2 separate regions of the Homo sapiens genome follow, and region 1 is linked to region 2. Evidence: promoter capture Hi-C in human tissues and cell types (Jung and others, 2019). All regions are on one chromosome and are shown on one strand. Each heading gives the region's core, a stretch centred on a gene start or on the middle of the fragment in contact. The rest is flanking DNA. Distances are from core to core; before and after follow the strand shown. Region 1 overlaps ATP8B2 (ATPase phospholipid transporting 8B2). Region 2 holds the start of GATAD2B (GATA zinc finger domain containing 2B).

Region 1 (3,382 bases), core at 140-2,639, 410 kb after region 2:
TGGCTTTAAAGCTGCTAGCAGGTCAGCTACACAAAGGCAGTGTTTATTTTAGGCTCCTTTTAGTTGGAAGATGTTATTTAAAAAAACTTCAGGAACGTGCATGAATCAACAACTTAAAGCTAAAACAAATCATCCCTTCTCTGATTCCAGTTATGATGATGACTTTGTGAAGCATGTGACCTTCTGTTTGCTTTTGCCAGGGACAAGGAGGCCTTCATGGGGATGGAGAGGGAATTAAAAGAAAAATTTCCATTTGGAAGAGGTTGGCAGGGTCTTTTCCCCCCAACTTCTAAGAACGAAGGATCCCAAAGGAAAAGTTTCTGTTTAAGTTTTTGGCAGTTCCTGAATCCTTCTCTTGTTTAGCTAGAAATCTGAACTCCTTGTTGGGCTCTCCTCCCCTTCCTGTGCCCCGACTGTCTGCTGCCTGCCCGCCACATGCCAGCTTGTGAAGGCTGGGGCTAGCCTCTGGTGAGCTTGTTTCCGCCCTGGCTTTAAAGAGTGTGCGGAAACCCAGCCTGGTGGGCGAGGTTGTCTATCACATAAGGGCTCCAGTCGCCCCCTGGTGGCCATTGGGCACCAATCTCCTATTTTGTTTCAAAGCCTAAACAGCGGAGGCAGCTTTGGAAATAGATGTAGGAAATTGGACAGTGGCCTGGTTTTTTACCAGTCTCTCCAGAGACTCCAAAATTTATAAGATTTTTGACTAATCAGGAAATCTAGACCAGGAGTGGTGGCTCACACCTGTAATCCCAGCACTTTGGGAGACCAAGGTGGGAGGATCATTTGAGCCTAGGAGTTCGAAAACAGCCTGGACACCATAGTGAGACCCTGTCTTTACAAAAAACTGAAAAATTAGCCAGGTTTGGTGGCATGCACCTGTGGTCCCAGTTACTCTGGAGGCTGAGGCGGGGGGATTGCTTGGCCTGGGAGATTGAGGCTGCGTTGAGCTAGGATCATGCCACTGCACTCCAGCCTGGGCAACAAAGCAAGACCCTGTTTCAAAAAAGAAATCTACGTTTATGAAGATAAGTTTGTTTCCCAAGTTTAAAAAAAAAAAAGGCAATCTTAGCCAGGTGCAGTGGCTCACGCCTGTAATCCCAGCACTTTGGGAGACCGAGGTGGGTGGATCACGAGGTCAAGAGATCAAGACCATCCTGACCAACATGGTGAAACCCCATCTCTACTAAAAATACAAAAAAATAGCTGGGCGTGGTGGCGGGCACCTGTAGTCCCAGCTACTTGGGAGGTTGAGGCAGGAAAATGGCGTGAACCCGGGAGGTGGAGCTTGCAGCAGTGAGCCGAGGTCGCGCCACTGCACTCCAGCCTGGGCGACAGAGCAAGGCTCCATCTCAAAAAAAAAAAAAAAAGGCCATCTATGTGAGATAGTGAACATTACCGTGGCTTGGCATTTTTGTTGGCTTGTACCTAGCCCAGGTGAATAGATTATTTACAGTAAGTTTTCTGGTATGTTAAAAGTAGCTCATCCCCACTCTTACCAACTTTGAGGACTCTGGAAGGTTTCAAGGTGCCAGATTGAGAGCTAATCAACTATTTCAGTTTCTTCATCATATAGATGAAATAATGGTCAGACAGAAGGCCACATGATAATTGGTGACAGACTAGAACCTGTCACCAGTTCTGAGCTTTTTCCACTAGAGCAGTGGTGTCCAATATTTTGGCATCCCTGGGCCACATTGGAAGAAGAATTGTCTTGGGCCACACATAAAATACACTAACATTAACAATAGCTGATAAGCTTAGAAAAAAAAAATTGCAAAAAAAAATCTCATAAATTTTTTTTTTTTTTTTTTGAGACGGAGTCTCACTCTGTCACTAGGCTGGAGTGTAGTGCAATGGCATTATCTCGGCTCACTGCAACCTCTGCCTCTCGGGTTCACGTGATTCTCCTGCCTCAGCCTCCCTAGTAGCTGGGATTACAGGTGCCCGCCACCACACCCGGCTAATTTTTTTGTATTTTTAGTAGAGATGAGAGATGGGGTTTCACCATGTTGGCCAGACTGGTCTCGAACTCCTGACCTCATGATCTGCCCGCCTTGGCCTCCCAAAGTGCTGGGATTATAGGTGTGAGTCACTGCACCTGGCCTTTTTTTTTTTTTTTTTTGAGACAGGTTCTTGCTCTGTTGCCCAGGCTGGGATGCAGTGGCATGATCTTGGCTCACTGCAATGTCTGCCTCCCGGGTTCAAGCAATTCTCATGCCTTGGACTCCTGAGTAGCTGAGACTACAGGCAAGTGCCACCAGGACTGGCTAATTTTTTTAATGTTTTTAGTAGAGACGGGGTTTCACCGTGTTGGCCAGGCTGGTCTCAAACTCCTGACCTCAGGTGATCCATCCGCCTCAACCTCCCAAAATGCTGGGATTACAGGCTTGAGCCACTGCGCCCAGCCCATAATAGTTTTTTTTTTTTTTATAATTATTTTTCATTTAACATTCAGCTGTTACCAAAATCTCATAGTGTTTTAAGAAAGTTTATGAATCTGTGTTGGGCCACATGTGGCCCAGAGACCATGGGTTGGACAAGCTTGCACTAGAGCATCTGAGCTTTTGAGGGCTCAAGGGATGAATACATCACAGATGCACTTGGTTTTGAGGGCTTCCTACATGTCAGCCTCGCCTGTGCTTCTCATTCCTCCCCAGATTTTTGGATTCCTGGTTTGCATGGGGGTGATCCTGGCCATTGGCAATGCCATCTGGGAGCACGAGGTGGGGATGCGTTTCCAGGTCTACCTGCCGTGGGATGAGGCAGTGGACAGTGCCTTCTTCTCTGGCTTCCTCTCCTTCTGGTCCTACATCATCATCCTCAACACCGTTGTGCCCATTTCACTCTATGTCAGGTATGTGCCTTCTCTGACCTGGGGTCTCTCCAGGGAGTCAGGCGGTCCCATAGAACTTTTCTTTTCTATGAAGATGAAGTCCTTGAGAAGTAACGAGAAGTCCTCTTCTTCCTGTACTGTAAACATTTGATGTTATCTGTTTATCTTTGTGGGCAGAGCAAACTTTTTACCACAGTTTCCTGGTACTTGGGACTGTATTAGAGAAAAAAAAATATTGATTTATTCAGCACCTATTTATTACATGCCTACTGTGTACAAAGAAGTGTGCTAGGTGCCATCACAAATAAAAGATGAATTAGGAATGGATCTCCTTCCTTCTAGGAGCTTACGTCTAGTAAAGGAAGGAAAATCTAAACACATTATAAAACAAAATAGGAACCAGTGCTGTAGAATTCGACCTAGAGTCTTCTATGTGAAGCTTGGGGATACAGAGATGTATAAGGTGGCCTCTGCCTTTAGCAGCAGCAGATGGATAGGTCGAGGAGGGGAGATCTGGACAGTGTCAGACTGAGATACCATGTGGGAGGC
Region 2 (3,480 bases), core at 974-3,473:
CTGGGTCACTCAGCCTATAGATTCAGCCTTCTGATTCCTGCTGATTAGTACTTTTCTACCTTGTTCCATGATGACTATCACTGCCACTGGACTAAAAAAACTCTATTCCCCTAAAAAGTGAAGACAGCCTTACCATCAACTAGTTATTCATATAAGCTATCTGCTTATATGAATCCGATCCTTGACCCAGTCCATTCCCAAATGGCCAGGGACTAGATATCCGTCACAAAAAAAGCAGCACGATCCAACAAGTGTGGGCCTTCCCTCAAAATATACTGAACTCCTCCATAGCACCTCCAGAAGTGGCCTCCTTCCCAACTAAGTACTGACAGAAATACTACTCTAGGACAATACTTGAAAGGCTGCTCCAGCACCAAAATAAGAATCCAAGTTATCAGACTGCAAGGAAGAGTTCAGGTCAGCATACCAAATGAAAAGCAATAAAGTTAGCACTAAACTCCCAAACAGGATAATCACCAACAACATATAGGCACCATGCTGCTGCCAGAAAACATCAAAGTCATCTGTGCTAGGAGGGGAAGGAGACTAGATGGCTGGAGGACAGAGATGGGAAGGAAGCTTACTTTTCACTTTGTACAACCACATGCATGCTTTTCTACTCAAAATATAAATTTTTAGAAAAAATGTCCTAAAAACTACAAAAGCATCAGCTCTTCTCCAACACAGATCTGTTAAACCTGTTTTAATTCCATCAGCTACAAATCCAAATCCCTCTTTTGCAGTCTGGCCTGAAAACACTGCTCTTGCCCTTTGCTGAAATATATTAAGTATCCTTCGCCTCTGCTGAAATGTATTAAGTATCCCCCCATCTCTCTCTCTCTCTTACACACACACACACGCACACACACACGCCCCCCAAATAAGCATTTATCAGAAATGAGAAAACTGGTTCTCAGGAGGCTACCTGATTTTCCAGGGGACAACAGAGAAAAGGTTGCTAGCTAGCTCAGTTAGCATCCACATGCCACCCACCACCAAGCCTCCATCTCCACCTCACTGCCAGCCCTATGAGCTAACATCTTGTGTTTGGAAGTTGATGCTGGGGAAGAATCCAAAGAGGCTACCATACCTTTATGAAACGGGAAAGCTGTACCGGGCGCGCGAATGGCACCTGAACCTCTGCACTCGCATGAGTGGCTCGCTCCTCAATGTAATTGAGAGCAGGGAGGCCAAAAGTACTCTAAGTCCCGGTGTGGTTAGGGAAGGGTAAGTTCCACCGACCCTCAGGAACTGAACTGGAAGACAGATCCAGTGTGTCCCACAAGCCCAGTCGCTGTAGAAGCTAAGTGCCCACATAGCCTGAGACAATTCTCTTCCCCTACGGGAGGGCGAGCGAACGGTGGACGACGAAATAAAGGGGTAAGGTTATGCGCTCCTGATCCCTTTCCCTAAATAAAGATAATTATCTGGTGCTTCCTTTACCCTTAGATTCCCCATTCGTCCCATCCGCCCGCAAACACAAGACTGAGCAGGGAGCGGCCCCCGCACCCTGAGGGCACCACTGGGGGTGGAGAGAGTTAAAAAAAAAAAGGGGGGGGCGCGCTAGAGAGGAAAGGAGGGGAGCATGGCGGGCATGAGGCAGGGAGTGAAAGCGGGGATGGCGGGGGAAACGGGGCGTGAGGGAGGGGAGAAAGAGTACAAGGAGACGAAATGAAGGGACACGAGCTGGGGGCGCGCGAGGCCGAAGTGAAAGACCGGGTCGCGCGCGCCAAGGGGGGAGAGGATGAGGTGAAGAAGGAGCGCGAGGCGGGGGCGCGCCGTGCCGGGGTGGGGGGAGGGGGACGCAAGGCGGGGGCGCGCGGGCGGGCGTCGGCTCGCGGGCGCTTCCCCTCCCCCCGCCCCTCCACCTTTCCCTTCCCCCACCTCCGCCACCACTGCCTCCTCCCAGCCTCCTTCCCTTCCTCGCTCCTCACCGCCCCCGGGCGGGCGGGCGGCCAGGCTGGCCTAGGCCAAAGCTCCTCACCTGGCGGTGGCGGTGTAACTCCCGGCTAGCTCGCCTCCTCAGGCGGCGGCGGAGGCGTCGAAAAAGGAAGAGGCGACGGCACAGGGGATCCAGACCCTGCTGACGGGACTAGGGACGGGGGTAGGGGAGGGGGGCGGGCCGGACCGGGGCGGGCGGGCGGAGCAGACACTGCGGTACAGACGGGGGCAGCGGCGGCGGCGACGGCTGCACCGGCGGCGGCGGCACCACACAAACAAGGACGCTGATTGGGCAGCTGCCAAGCGCCTCGGCTCCGCCTTACCCACACGCCACGACGCCCATTGGGCGACCTAAGCCGGCCACCCCGCCCTCATCTTCTCGGCCATGCCAGTAGAAGACTAGATGCCGGGACTTCACCCCACCCTTGAAGAATGAGTGGCCGGAGAAGTGATGATTGGCGTGCTTAAAACCCAATCATAAACGGAGGAGGGGGGATGGTCTAGCGGGGGCGCGTTAATGGGTACCTCTGCCAGTCCCAGACACATCCGGGTCTTCGACAGCCCATTAAGTGTCGGGGGTCAAAAAATCGCTTCAGGCTGCAACTTTACCTTAGAGACGTTTTGGTCCCCAGGCAGCCGCCGTACCCCAGTCTCTCCAAACCGGGATTCCCCTTTGGCCATCTCTCATTCTTTCAATTCTAAAGATGGAGACTGGCGAACGGCGATGGGGTCTGCGGTGGGCGGTGTTTCGTCGCGACAGACTCTAGGAAATTTCACGATAGAACTAGCTTTAGGCGCTTGAGCCTTGCCGTCTTTTTGGGGTGTGGCCTGTCTCCGTCTGCCAAAGGCTTTGAGCTTCCTGGTGTTCATCGTACCTCCGCTTGGTCCTGTCGTGACTAAACCACGACAGCAGGAAAAAAAAAAAAGCAGCTAGCCAAGTTGCTGAGGAATTACGGTGTGCAGAGCCCTCGCAGCTCCTTCTCTTGGGAACTCCTGGTCTGGTTAGGTTCTCAGCGAGGAAACAGCCTCCCACCCCGCCCGATTCCACCTAATTAACTCAAGGGCCAGCTCCTTTTGCTGGCCTCCCTGCTTCCACGGAGCAGTTAGGCCCGCCTAAACTCAGCGAGCGTTTCTGGAGCACCTTGAGGATAGGGACCAAGTAACAGAGTCCGGGTGTTAAGGTTATGATAGTAGTTAACGTTTTTGGAAAGAGACTGTGTCAGGCTCTGTGCTAAGAACTTTACATGAAGTATTTATTCCTCATGACTGTGAGGTAGGTACTGTTATCCCTACTTTACAAATGAGGAAAATTAGGATCAAAAAATTTGTCCAGTTACACGTTAAGTGGTAGAGCTGAAATTTGAACCCAAGTAGATGAGGAAACTAAGGCTCAGAGAGGTTAAGTAACTTGCCAAAGGTCAGACCGCTAGTTAGTGACTAAGCAGTGGTTTAAACCCAGAAACAACTGGTTCCACAGGCATTTTGTTATTGTTGTTTTCTCACTGTGTCTCCCAGGCTGGAGTGCAGTGGTACAATCTC

What was found. The method cuts DNA at HindIII sites, captures the fragments that hold promoters and counts their contacts. A contact is called where the count stands out against the background at its distance.
Region 1: a contact is called between a fragment that was not itself captured here and the fragment with the promoter of GATAD2B in region 2, in 1 of the 25 tissues and cell types used here (heart right ventricle).

What each region holds. Positions count from the first base shown.
Region 1 is chr1:154,334,691-154,338,072 of GRCh38, forward strand. It overlaps ATP8B2 (ATPase phospholipid transporting 8B2), which reads left to right. Exons shown (of 28, transcript NM_001370597.1): 12 at 2,658-2,854. Among named protein-coding and RNA genes, the nearest start is that of ATP8B2, 11 kb to the left of the region's middle. The HindIII fragment of the contact is 3,033 bases long and covers 1-2,906 here.
Region 2 is chr1:153,920,749-153,924,228 of GRCh38, forward strand. GATAD2B (GATA zinc finger domain containing 2B) reads right to left here and starts at 2,224. Exons shown (of 11, transcript NM_020699.4): 1 at 1,985-2,224. It overlaps LOC101928059 (a long non-coding RNA gene), which reads left to right and starts at 2,625. Exons shown (of 4, transcript XR_922160.3): 1 at 2,625-3,214. RefSeq lists silencers at 2,008-2,327, 3,005-3,299 and an enhancer at 2,458-2,697. The HindIII fragment of the contact is 10,081 bases long and covers 104-3,480 here.